Regions from separate parts of the Homo sapiens genome. Here region 2 is linked to region 1. Evidence: promoter capture Hi-C in human tissues and cell types (Jung and others, 2019). All regions are on one chromosome and are shown on one strand. Each heading gives the region's core, a stretch centred on a gene start or on the middle of the fragment in contact. The rest is flanking DNA. Distances are from core to core; before and after follow the strand shown.

Region 1 (6,896 bases), core at 3,567-6,066:
GAACTTCTGGGCTCAAGCAATCCTTTCCATCTCAGCCTCCTGAATAGCTAGAACTACAGGGGTGTGCCACCATGCCCAGCATATTTATTTCTATTTTTGTAGAGAGAGGCGTCTTGCTATGTTGCCCAGGGTAGTCTCAAACTCCTGGCCTCAAACAATCTTCCCATCTTGGCCTCACAAAGTGCTGGGATTGGCGTGGTGTCTCACACCTGTAATCCTAGCACTTTGGGAGGCTGAGGCAGACGGATCACCTGAGGTCAGGAGTTCGAGACCAGCCTGGCAACAAAGTGAAACCCCGTCTCTACTAAAAAATACAAAAATTAGCTGGGCATTGTGGCGCCCATCTGTAATCCCAGCTACTCGGGAGGCTGAGGCAGGAGAATCGCTTGAACCGGGGAGGCAGAGATTGCAGTGAGCCGAGATTGTGCCACTGCACTCCAGCCTGGGCAACAGAATGAGACTCTGTCTCAAAAAAAAAAAAAAACAAATGAACAAAAAACGAAGTGCTGGGATTCCAGGTGTGAACCACCACACTTGACCTACATACTTTGATATATATTCTCATTTTTTCTTACAATCATCAAATGAAACAAAACCTTCTCTTTGACAAATGAAACAGCCCAAGAAGTTAAGTGACTGCCCACATGGTAGGCAAAGGTACTCTCAAAAAGCAGTCTAAAAGCCCTTGCTTTTCACCACTAAGCTGTTCACCTTTTTATTATTAATTAAATTAATAATTTAATTATTATGAATTAAATGGTTGAGTTAAAAGTAGGCATTGGCTCATTTGCAAAACATTGAAAGAAACTGAGACCCAAAACAAAACAAAAAAAACAAAACAAAAAAAAAAACCCTGCAAGTCAAGTTTCAGGCCTCATTTCAAAGGAAGGTTACATCCCCTTTCGTCATCTATAAAATGGCCTCCCAGTGCAGCCCAACACTCCTACCCATAATTAAATCTCCTTATTCCACTTTTAGTTCCCAAGGATTTTTTACTCATGTCCTGCTCTTTCCCTGCTGCCCCCTTTTTAGTCTTTTGTTCTTGAGCCACTGCTTTGAACTGCATCTTAATTATGCCCTCATGGGCCAAACCCCATCTGTGACCCTGCTCCAGTGGGTTTCAGCAAAGGATACTCTCCATCCATATTCTGAGGGCTCCAGGGCCTGGAGCCAGTCATCCAGGAGGTCATCCAAAGGAGTGGAATCCATTGGTTCTAAGACTCTTCATTCCCTGCCTAGGAAGGAACAGCCGAGTTGGAGGAACATGCACTCGATTCAGACCTTCCCTTTTCACCCAGTGAAAGCTAAACCTCTGCAAAGTGGGGAGAAGTAGGGCTAAGCCTACCAGTCATAAAAAGAACCAGGAATAGAAAACACACCCCTCAGCCCCTCTGCCCTGCAGAGGCTGGCTGGGAGGATCCCAGGAATGCAGGGCTCTTCTCCACTGCCTGATCTGGGCATCCCAGGAGTGATGGCTGTACCTCCTGTTCTTGTTTGGTGTTTCAGGGTGAAGCCCGGGCTGTCACTGTGCCCTGGCAACAACATGTATGAGTCAGACTGAGGTCAAGGTGAAGGAACACAGCTCACTGCTTATCACAGTGAATCAGGAGCCTAGATAGGGATTCCCCAAGGATGACATAGGATCAATGCCCTCAATCCAACAGAAAAAGTAAATCTTCAAATCAGATTAAACACCAAACTTCCCACCTCCCTAATATTCTTTCTTCTGGGAAGGATAACTTAGATATATTCCAACACCCTCATAAATCAAGATATAAAAGACAATATTTGACTTCCCTTTAAAATAATTCTACCATTTCACAGTTTGTATGTATGCATGTAAACTTACATGTAATTAGCTAAGTATGTTGCAATTAGCTAAGCCAGCTGGAATCATGAGGAGATAGTGAAAATGTTTGCTAGGAAAACAACCTCATTAACAAACGTAGAGCTTTTAAGAGTTTTGTTGGCTGGGCATGGTGGCTCACACCTGTAATCCCAGCACTTTGGGAGGCCGAGGTGGGTGGATTACCTCAGGTCAGGAGTTTGAGACCAGCCTGGCCAACACAGCGAAACCCTGTCTCAACTAAAAATACAAAAATTAGCCAGGTGTGGTGGCGCATGCCTGTAATCCCAGCTACTCAGGAGGCTGAGGCAAGAGAATCACTTGAACAGAGGTTGCAGTGAGCTGAGATTGCGCCATTGCACTCCAGCCTAGGCAACAAGAAAGAAACTGTCTCAAAAAAAAAAAGTTTTTTTGTTGTTGTTTTTAGGAGACAGTCTCACTATGTTGCCCAGGCTGGCCTCAAACTCCTGGGCTCAAGTGATCCTCCCAAGTAGCTGGGACTACAGGCGCACCACTGCATCTGTAAAAAGTCTTAAGGGCGGCCGGGCGCAGTGGCTCATGCCTGTAATCCCAGCACTTTGGGAGGCCGAGGTGGGTGGATCATTTGAGGTCAGGAGTTCCAGAACAGCCTGGACAATATGGTGAAACCCCACCTCTATTAAAAATACAAAAATCAGCCAGGCGTGGTGGCGGGCACCTGTAGTCCCAGCTACTCGGGAGGCTGAGGCAGGAGAATAACTTGAACCCAGGAGGCAGAGGTTGCAGTGGGCCAAGATTGCGCCACTGTACTCTAGCCCGGGAGAGAGCGAGACTCCATCTTAAAAAAAAAAAAAATACTCTTAAGAGCTAGGTGTATAAGTTCCATTTGAGAAATCTCAGAAACTTATTTTTGGGGCTAGATTTTTGGAGAATTTGTTTTAGGAATGCTGCAACTTTGTCAGAGTGCTCAGATTTTAGTATATTTCCATCACCTGACATTGAACTAAAGCCACTTGGCTGACACCTTTGTTGTGACCACCCACAACTGCACTTACTTGAGGACCTGGTGCAGAAAGCACTGGTAGCCAGGTGTGCACTTGCCATAATCTATCTGCTTTTGCCACCAATAGAGAATAACTTTGTCTCTACTTCCCACCTGCAGGGAAGTATACAATTTCCCACAAAGTGTGATTATACTGTAGTCGTCAAAGCAGATAACAACTCATCCCACACTCCCTTAATCCCCAGCCTGATTTTCAAACTCACCTGGCATAGCAAGGTTCTGTGCTAACTCCTACACTCACTGTCTGTATCCTAGAGGACAAAGAATCTTCACACATCTCCTTTCTGGGGAAGCAGGTTCTGCAGATGAAAAGGGTATTAGGATAAAAACCAGCTGGCTACACTGTGCCTCTCAGCCACTACCACCACCAAGATCCTGACAACAGACACAAGTTGCATTTTGACTTTTGTTTCTCAAAGCATGATCTGCAAGCCGTCTGCATGGGTAGCACCTGGGGGCCTTGATAATGACCCCACTTTAGACCTATCGAATTATCGTTTTTGGAGCCTACATCTTAAAGAGCTTCCAAGGTTATTTTGAACATTTTTATTATGGAAATTTTCAAATATACATTGAAGTAAGAAGTATGGGGTAATACCTTACCACGCAAAGTATGGTCGTAGGACCAGCTACCTCACCATCAGCTGGGGGCTTGTTAGAAGGGCAGAATCTTGGGCCGCAACCGCAACCCAGACATCCCGAATCAGAATCTGCATTTAGCAGGTCCTCAGGTGGTTAGTGTGCAAATTAAACCTTGAGAAGCACAGATATGATGGACCCTCCTGCCCCCATCACTCAACAGTCAGGGTCAATCTTGTATCATCAATACCTTCCCCCAGCACAGGATTATTTAAAAGCAAATCCCTAACATTAGGAATGTCTTTTTGTTTGTTTCACTCTAATGCCCAGGCTGGAGTGCAGTGGCGCAACCTCTGTCTCCCGAGTTCAAGCAGTTCTCATGCCTCAGCCTCCCAAGTAGCTGGGATTACAGGTGTGTGCCACCACAACCGGCTAAATTTTGTATTTTTAGTAGAGACGGGGTTTCATCATGTTGGCCAGGCTGGTTTTGAACCCCTGACCTCATGTAATCTGCCCGCCTCGGCCTCCCAAAGTGCTGGGATTACAGGTGTGGGCCAACGCGTCCGGCCAATAATTTATAAATATCACCTCGTCAATGTTCAAATTTTCATTAATAACCAATCTTTGAGGTCCTCTGGATTGCGATAAGGATTATACCAAGATGATTTAATTCCTCCACTTTCCCTGCAACGGAATTTCTTTTTACCCACGTGAGCTAGAGTCTCTGAGATGCTGCACACTAAAAGAAACACCAAACAAAGCTCTTGGAAGGGGCTAATGCCTCTCAGCATAAACACACACACCCGTCTCGCCCCAACACTTGCCACGCCGGCAGCAAACGCTCCATCTCCCGTGGAAGGCCAGCAAAACTTAGAAGAAAACGTCCGCGAAAACGGCACGAGAAAGAAGCGAAGAAAATGAAACGCTTACAACACCCTCCACCCAAAATAATCTCTCCTAGTATTACCCTAGTGAATGGACATCACTAGTAAGGCGCGGTTTAAATCTCCCGGGGTTCGTGGGGCTGAGGGAACGAGGAAAACAGAAAGGGTGTGGAGATTGGTGAGAGGGAGAGCCAATGATGCGCCAGGCTCCCCGTGAGGCGGAGCTTACCCCGCAGCCTGCCTAACGCTGGTGGGCCAAACACTATCCTGCTCTGGCTATGGGGCGGGGCAAGTCTTACCATTTCCAGAGCAAGCACACGCCCCCAGGTGATCTGCGAGCCCAACGATAGGCCATGAGGCCCTGGGCGCGCGCGCGGAGATTGGCTGACGCAGCTTAGAGGCGAGCGGGGATAGGTTACTGGGCTGGCGGAAGGTTTGAATGGTCAACGCCTGCGGCTGTTGATATTCTTGCTCAGAGGCCGTAACTTTGGCCTTCTGCTCAGGGAAGACTCTGAGTCCGACGTTGGCCTACCCAGTCGGAAGGCAGAGCTGCAATCTAGTTAACTACCTCCTTTCCCCTAGATTTCCTTTCATTCTGCTCAAGTCTTCGCCTGTGTCCGATCCCTATCTACTTTCTCTCCTCTTGTAGGCAAGCCTCAGACTCCAGGCTTGAGGTAAGTCCGCAGCCGTCTCCGCCACGGAATCACGGAGACCCCATTGTCCCCCTTAGGGTCCAGTCGGGCCCCCACAGACAGAGGTTGGGAGGGCCGAATGGGGACTATCGCGAGTTACGAGACCCGGGTTCTTTCTAGTCAGGAGTCTCGAGCTGTGTGGCGTGGAACAAGTCAAAATCCTCTCTTCATTCCATCTTTAAGGTCCTAAGGTTGCCTCTCGTCGGTGAATTCAGGTTCTAACCTTAAGCCAGGCTGTGAATCACCCTTCGGGGTTGCCCCTCTTCCAGTGTTGATTCGCCTGGCTGGAAAGGGTGGAGGAGTTTAGGAAAGCTGAGGGAACTGTGATGTACCGATTTAGATGACGTTTTCCTCCTAGCTAGGTTTTGTTTTTCTCCTGGTGAGAATTCGAAGACCATGTCTACGGAACTCTTCTCATCCACAAGAGAGGAAGGAAGCTCTGGCTCAGGACCCAGTTTTAGGTCTAATCAAAGGAAAATGTTAAACCTGCTCCTGGAGAGAGACACTTCCTTTACCGTCTGTCCAGATGTCCCTAGAACTCCAGTGGGCAAATTTCTTGGTGATTCTGCAAACCTAAGCATTTTGTCTGGGTAAATATACTTTTATTTTTACACTGTATTGCCTTTGCTATTTCCAAACAGTTGGGTTTGTTTGTTGGTTTGTTTTCAATTATCCCGGCTCAAAGGTCAGGCTTTAAGTCTCAACTCTGCCCTTGACTGTGTAACCCTTTTGAGTCTCACCTTCTTTTCTGTGACAAGAAATAATCTCAGCCAGGCGAGGTGGCTCATGCCTGTAATCTCCGCACTTTGGGAGGCCAAGGAGGGCGGATCGCCTGAGTCTAGGAGTTCAAGACCAGCCTGGGCAACATGGCAAGACGCCGTCTCTACAAAAAATATTAAAAGTTAGCTGAGTGTGGTGGTGTGCACCTATAGTCCCAGCAACTCGGGAGGCTGAGGTGGGAGGATTGCTTGAGCCCGGGAGGTGGAGGCTGCAGTTAGCCAAGATCGCCTCACTGCACTTCAGCCTGGGAAACAGAGTGAGACTCTATCTCAAAAAGAAAAGAAAAGACAAAGAAATAATAATCGCTTCCTATCTTACTAGGATCTTGTGAGAATCAAATGATGTGATAACTGGGAAAAGTCTTTGAAAACCGCTGCATTACGAGTCGGTCACTTTATTAGTATTAATATTAGTGTTATTGCAGTTGTACTTTGAATTCTGATCATACCATGTCTCAACTAGCAAAGAGAAGTAGTACCTGAGAAAAACTAGGGACCCCAGGGAGAAATCAAGCCTGTGTTCATAGTGCTCAGGACCGGGAATGTGGAGTCAAGATCCCCCTCGGCCAATAAACTCTGGGCCTCATTTAAAAAAAAAAAAATTATCTGTTTCAGTATGTTGGTAAGGAGAAAATAAAGTACAGATTATGGTAGTGGGAGATTTTTCTCAGCCCAGTCTGATATATTTCCCAAAAGCAATTAGATTTATTTGGACACTGTTCAGATGATCTGATAGTCATTAAGGGGTGTTTCAAATGAACAGGCTTGGCCAGGCGTTGTGGCTCACACCTGTAATCCCAGCACTTTGGAAGGCCGAGGTGGGTGGATCACCTGAGGTTAGGAGTTTAAGACCAGCCTGGCTGACATGGTGAAGCCCCATCTCTACTACAAATACAAAAATTAGCTGGGCGTGGTGGCAGGCGCCTGTGATCCCAGCTATTTGGGAGGCTGAGGCAGGAGAATCGCTTGAACCCGGGAGGCGGAGGTTGCAGTGAGCCAAGATCGTGCCACTGCACTTGAGCTGGGGGGACAGAGCAAGACTCCACTGCAAAAAAAAAAAAAAAAAAAAAAGAA
Region 2 (6,896 bases), core at 1,374-3,873, 370 kb after region 1:
TCTCTGTGGTAACTCTGAGGTAGTCAAGTAAATTATTGTTATTCTCATATTTGTGATGAGAAAGGCAGAGCTAGGGCTTGAATTTGGTTCTTTTGAGTGAGATACCAAGGTTCTGTTTGTTTGTTTGTGACGGAGTCTTGTACTGTCACCCAGACTGGAGTGCAGTGGTGCAATCTTGGCTCACTGCAGCCTTTGCTTCCTGGGTTCAAGCAATTCTCCTGTCTCAGTCTCCCGAGTAGCTGGGACTACAGGTGTGTGCTACCACGCCCGGCTAATTTTTGTATTTTTAGTGGAGATGGGGTTTCGCCATGTTGGCCAGGCTGGTCTCAAACTCCTGATCTCAAGTGATTTGCTCGCCTCAGCCTCCCAAAGTGCTGGGATTACAGGTGTGAGCCACTGTGCCTGGCCCCAAGGTTCATTTTAAATATTGGGTCTGGTTGTGCACAGTGGCTCATGCCTGTAATCCCAGGACTTTGGGAGGCTGAAGACAGATGGATCACTTGAGGTCAGGAGTTCAAGACCAGCCTGGCCAACATGCCGAAACCCATCTCTACTAAAATTACAAAAAAATTACCCTATTCAACATGCTGAAACCCCATCTCTGCTAAAAATACAAAACAATTAGCCAGGTGTCCTGGCACCACACCTGTAGTCCCAGCTACTCGGGAGGCTGAGGCAGGAGAATCGCTTGAACCCAGGAGATGGAGTTTGCAGTGAACCTGCATGAGCCTCACTCTGGCCTGGATGACAGAGTGAGACTGTCTCAAAAAATTTTTTTAAGTAAATAAATAAAAATTAAATATTTGGTCTGGGTAATGGTTATTTCATGTGCCCAGAAACCTTCAGAATGTAAAGCTATCTTCTAGAGCAGAGATCCCCAACATTTTTGGAACCAGGGACTGGTTTTGTGGACAACAGTTTTTCCATGGATGGTGGATAGGGGGTTGGGGTTTTGGGATGAAACTGTTCTACCTCACATCATCAAAGCATTAGTTAGATTCTCATAAGGAACACAACCTAGATCCCTTGTTTGCACAGCTCACAATAGGGTCCATGCCTCTGAGAATCTAATGCCAGCACTCATATGACTGGAGGCGCGGAGCTCATGCCATAGTGCTCACTCCCCACTCCCCCAGCTGCTCACCTCCTGCTGTGTGGCCTGGTTCTTAACAGGCTAGCGATCGGTACCGGTCCAGGGGTTGGGGACACCTGTTATTGATCATAAAAGTTACCGAAGTCTGATTTCTGTATCAGTGGTTCTCACACTTTGGGTCTCAGGGACTCATTCATACTCTTAAAAATATTGAAGATCCCAAAGAGCTTTTGTTTACATAGGTATATCTGTTAGGATTTACCATATTAGGAATTAAAACTGGTAAATTTAAAAAACATTAATTTAACAAACTCATTTATGGTAACATAAGTAAGGTTGCTCTTTTCCACAATAGATAACTGTTTTCATAAAATTTTTTAAGTTTGAGGAGTGGCATTGTTTTACATAGCTAGAAATATTGTTGATACCTGTTTGACTTACAGAAGACAGCTGGATTCTTGTATATGCTTCTGCATTTAAGTCTGTTGCTGTTACATTGTTTTGTTGAAGCATATGAGACAGCCTCACAGATGTGTAGTTTGAAAAGGGACTAGTATTTTAACAGCTTTTTTTGCAGATTCTTGTGGACCTTCTTTCACGCTAAACAAAGCTGGACAAGTGGTACTTACTTTCTAAAGAAGAATCAGAGAGTCTAGGAAGTATGGAACCTTTTGTTGATTTGAAAGGTGATCATCAAAAACACCACAACGTTCATGTATTTTGTAGTAATTCTCTGGGTATTTGTATTAGACTTGGTAGGTTTTTAGTTTGGGGGGGAATAGGGATGAGATGGTGTCACTAAGCTCGTTGGAAAATGGGAGAGTTTTCTCATGTGGGGACTTTCTTTGTGGAAAATAGTTATTACTTCAAATATACAAAGGAATCTAGTGAACTCCTCTATGACTCCTATCTTACCTACAAGAAGTCACCAAACTTGTATCTTTGTAGCTGAGGAGAAATAAAGCAAGCAGCAGTTGGCAAGCAGGATCAGAAGACCATCATTTTGGAGGAGATAATTCTAAGGAAGAAGGATGGTAGTGGTGATACATATTACCTAATAGAGAGAAATGCAGAGTACCTGCTATACTTCATATGACCCAGGTTTTGAGGGAAGATAAATTACTCTCTGTAAAAAGAGATGCTAAGTACTACAGACTATTATAAATGATAGCTAATTAGGGGTGTTTGACTAATCTGTATTCTAATATCCTAATTTAGATTGGCAACTTCTCTTATCTGAGTATTGGGAGCTCCATTAATACATGGTAGTGTTCTTTTTGTCAGTCTGTAGGTATATTGTTAGAGCCATGCAGTGACCGTGGTGATAGTGAAGATGGCTGTCTTGAGAGGTAAGCATTTTTTCTTGTTGCTAATTAATCATTTTGAGAATTGGAGCTCTTCACAGATTTTTGAGGTGATTTTTTTAGATGAATGTCCATTATAAATATATAGTTTAGATAATCTTAAACAGCCTTCTTGTTATAATGGTAGGCATAAAGGATATTAAATACCCATAAATGTTTGGATTTGTACAGGTTCAGACAGTAGTTATAACTTGGAAAACATTCAGAGGGAAAAACAGCCTTTTTGGAGACATTTAAATCTTTCAGTTGATTGTGGAACAATTGGGAATTTACTGATATTCTGAGTATACCTGTCAGTGAGTTAATTCATGATCTTGTAACTGTGTATAACTAACTGAGAGATACTGTATTTGATTCAACAAATATGTATAGGATGTTTTTCTTCCTCTTTGAATTTATCCTTGGTGTGTCTCAGTACACTCTTAGGCAGCTGGTGCTTTTTTAACCTCTTTGGCTGGCTGTAATGGTAGAGAAATACTGGAGGCAATGAGTATTTCGACTAATGTAGAGTCTCAATAGATAGCCTCTTTGAATAGAAGCTTTCTAGAATGTTTTAAATCACAGAGTAAGATTTGGGTTCTTGTTACCCTTTGCATCAGTCTTCAAGATGCTGCCAAAAAGTATAACTTTCTTAGGAAGGTGATTTGAGATTCTGAAAACACTTCAGTAATGAAGTTGCAGGCTAGATTGTAAATATTGAGAGATCCCAGACAGTATACTAATTTGCTGACAGCCTGTTGGCCAGGACATATTTGTATTCTATTGTTTCTTTTAATTATAAGTAGGAAGCCTGTTCTTTAAGGGTAAGCAAATTCTTTGGAGCCACGTCTCTGGAGCCTCCCCATACTCTGAAGGTCCACAGATTTCCTTATAGCAGTTCCTTGTCCTTCCTTTCAGGAGGCAGGAATCATCCTCTTCCAGCCCAGGAAGTATTGGAGCTATGGGCTGAAGATATAAAATTAACAACATTAACAGGCACCCCCAGAATAGTGACATCTGGATTTGGTAGAACAATAAGGACCCATTTAGTGAGGACTCTTCTGTTGTTGTTGTTGTTGTTGTTGTTGTTGTTGTTTTTGGAAAAAGCTCTCTCCTCTTCAACTTCAACTGTGTATAAGTTAGCAAACTGGTTTTTAGATCCAGAGTACCTTGGTTAGGTGGATTACATTTTGTATGTTTAACATTCATGCTTCTCAAATGTAGGTGATTAGGTCTTTTAGGCTGCTAAGGTAGTAATTACTCATCCTACCATTTGCTCCTACTCTAAGCAAAGGAATGCCTTTAAGCTTAACAGAGCATTTAGTTCATTTCTTATTCTCAGCAAGAATAAGGTAATTATCTGTATGAGAAGATGACTTGCAATATTTAGATCAAGGCATGTCTCCTGAGTGCATACTCTGTTATGGCCGGTTAGAAGTGACATCTCGATGTGTCATTGTAAATTGCCACTGTGTCTTTGGGGAAAAGAACTTTCCCCCAGTAGGCATATTGATAATCTACTGTATAATAGCAGGTGCTCTCTTGACTGGTAAAATAGGTACAGATCACTTACGACAGCTTGCTATAACACTTGTTCTAAATAAGGGTTAGTTTTTCTGGGGAAGTAAAAGGTGGACTGAAATTTTTTAAAATTTCCTTTTAGTATGTTACTGTTATATTTTGAGGAGGGAAAGGTTTGGAAGTAGTAACCTTCTCTGATTGGAAGTAGTATCCTTGTGATAGAATACAGTCAAGTTTAAAGTAAAAGACATAGTGATACCTTTTTAAAAAGTTTTCTTTGAAAGTCTCAAGAATGGAGAGAATAGAGCTGTTTATTTGGTTAAAACATTTATTTTATAAAATCTTTATTATACATTCATTCTTTTGGGTTTCTACTTACTGTGGATTTTAGTTTTCATTTTATAAAGGTTTTTCTTTTTTGCTGTGGTTTGTGGGGTGGAGTAGGGATTGTTACTTGATTTTTCTAAACCCGAAGTGATTCTGTGGATCTTTTCAGTATTGTGTGATTTTTCAGATATAGGGCTCCAAAGAATGGGCATGTGTCCAGTTGGCATTTTCTCCTCGCACATTGTAAATGCTAACTGTGTTATGGAGTAGAGGAATCTAGGTAAGAAATATATAATGATAGTAGCCTTTTTATTCTTAATATACTAACAACTTTACTTGTATTTTTAGGGAAGAATATTTGTTATTTGACAGTGATAAATTGTCACACTTGATTCTGGTAAGAACTATTTTTTTGTCTTAGTCTTTAAAAACTTGCCTAGGTTTAAACTGTTATGTCTGGTCTTTAATGTGGGTTAGCTAGGTTTAAAGATTTAAATATAAATACTCTTACCAAATATTTTACAGTTAAACAGCAACTTAATTTGCCACTTTTGGTTACAAGAGACTTGGTTGTGAAAACACTTTCCTGAATTTGGGATCCAAACTTGTCTTCCAATAAGACATATTCTAAAACTGCATGTTTATATTTGAAAATAGTTTGCACAGTGGGAGTGGGACAGTTGGCTGTATAGGCACAGTAAACTAATGAAGACTACACTTGGATATGTGCTGGATGTGTTTAAGCTGGGTGTGAAAAGCTTCCGTAGTTGTGAAATATATTCTTTATTTTAAAATACAGGATTCTAGTAGCAAGATATGTGATTTGAATGCCAACACTGAATCAGAAGTACCAGGAGGTCAGAGTGTTGGTGTTCAAGGGGAAGCAGCGTGTGTCAGTATTCCACATTTAGATCTGAAGAATGTTTCTGATGGTGATAAATGGGAAGGTAATTTTACCCACACGCATTATTTTCCTGATAATGTTACTTGTAACCGAAATTACCCTAAGCAATGATAAGACTACAGCCCTTTTCTGGATAACCTTATTCATCTTGATCTTCTGTTCTCCCTTTCATGTAAGATGAACAAGTGGGTGTTTTTAGTGAAACACACTGAGATTTTGGGGCAGCATCTCATATGAACTAGAAGTTCTTGTCTGATCCATCAACAGCTTTGAAAATGGATGTTAGAACTGATTTTTTTAAAAAGTCACCCAGCATACGTTTTTGTTAATATTTAAATCAGGTGCTATCTCCTAGTCTTTGGAAGCCCAGTATGTTAAGGCTTAGGGATCTCACCAGTTTAAGCAGAGCGTGTATAATTACCTTGTCCTTAGTATCATCAGTAGTACTTTTTTGAAAAATGACCTTCAAGGGTACTTCTAAACAAATATTGTACCATATTCCTGTATTTCTGTCTTAGGTTATGAAGGTATGGTGCAGGGGACTCTAAAAATTTGCACAAAGGAGAGAAGTTAAAATTTAACAAGCAAACAACATGGGTATATGCATTTCTCAAAACTCAGCAAATACATAGATTTTTGTGTTTCTTTGTATATAAAGTTCTCTTTTTACTTCAAGAGGATAAAAAACTGTAAACAAATGCTGAACTTCAGTGGATGATTTGCATGCTGGAGTGTTTATGGGGAAATTTACTGATACCTGCAGTTTACTCTGAAATCCATGAAAAAAATAAGATGGTTAATGGGATGGATAAATGTTATAAAGCAAGTATAGTAGAATGTTAATGGTAGATTGTGATTGGTATATGGATATTCAGTGTAAAGTTCTTTCAATTTTGCTATGTATTTGTAAACTTTCAAATAAAATGTTGAGTGGGGGTGGGAATCAAGCAATAAATTTGGATCTAGGAGTTTTTCTGGATCATACACTTTGGTAAAGAGACAATGAGATAACTCAAGAATCTTAAGGATAGTTACATATTCATTCACTTGGATGAAGATCCCTGGGTTGTCTCACCTTTGGCAAGTATCTGTTGACATACACTGGCAATAACAGGAATTCTAATGCCAGTGCCACGGACTCCTTTTGGCACTGTTTAAGTGTACTCACCTGATCGCAAATGGAGTGTGTGTGGGTCTTGTTTTTTTTTTTAAGGTCTAGGCATTTTTTTTTAAGAGCCCCAACCAAGTCATTGTCTGTGCCAATTTTTATTGCCATCTCCTCCCCACCCTCCTTTTTATATAGGTCTAGATGTTTGGCATGCCCAGTGGCATATTATCTGTTTTAACTTAGACTAAATTAGAAAGTTGTCTTTAATTTGCTTTGTTCTGGGTTATTCAGGACATCTGGAATTTATGAAGATGCTTCCCAGTGTTGGGGGATATGTTAGCATACTGGTGGCAGTTGAAGATTAAATGTTCTTTTTTGTTATTTATTGTGGCTGAAATAAAAGGAATGGTGGTCGACAGAGCATCCCTTGCAGCATTGCTAGGAAATGAGTCTTCAAAGGAAGCAGCTTGGATTCTGATAAAGCACTTTTGTTTCTTCCTATTAGAAGATGCAGATAAATAGTTCTTTATGATCTTTGGCCTGGGAGTCCTGATTAAATTTTAAACATAGAAGAATAATTGTTTTTCATTGTCTGAAGAG

Evidence for each region. Contacts are between HindIII fragments. The study calls those that stand out against the background at their distance.
Region 2: a fragment that was not itself captured here is called in contact with the fragment with the promoter of CDC25C in region 1 in 1 of the 25 tissues and cell types used here (aorta).

What each region holds. Positions count from the first base shown.
Region 1 is chr5:138,329,724-138,336,619 of GRCh38, reverse strand. CDC25C (cell division cycle 25C) reads left to right here and starts at 4,816. Exons shown (of 14, transcript NM_001790.5): 1 at 4,816-5,025; 2 at 5,402-5,633. The coding sequence starts at 5,440. LOC100128966 (a long non-coding RNA gene) reads right to left here and starts at 4,515. Exons shown (of 4, transcript NR_146628.1): 1 at 4,435-4,515; 2 at 3,092-3,187; 3 at 1,135-1,235. RefSeq lists a silencer at 4,494-4,753 and enhancers at 4,804-4,853, 4,864-4,993, 4,705-5,658. The HindIII fragment of the contact is 27,615 bases long and covers 1-6,896 here.
Region 2 is chr5:137,957,951-137,964,846 of GRCh38, reverse strand. FAM13B (family with sequence similarity 13 member B) reads left to right here. Exons shown (of 24, transcript NM_001385994.1): 11 at 2,378-2,442; 12 at 4,633-4,681; 13 at 5,084-5,231. Among named protein-coding and RNA genes, the nearest start is that of FAM13B-AS1, 71 kb to the left of the region's middle. The HindIII fragment of the contact is 3,541 bases long and covers 853-4,393 here.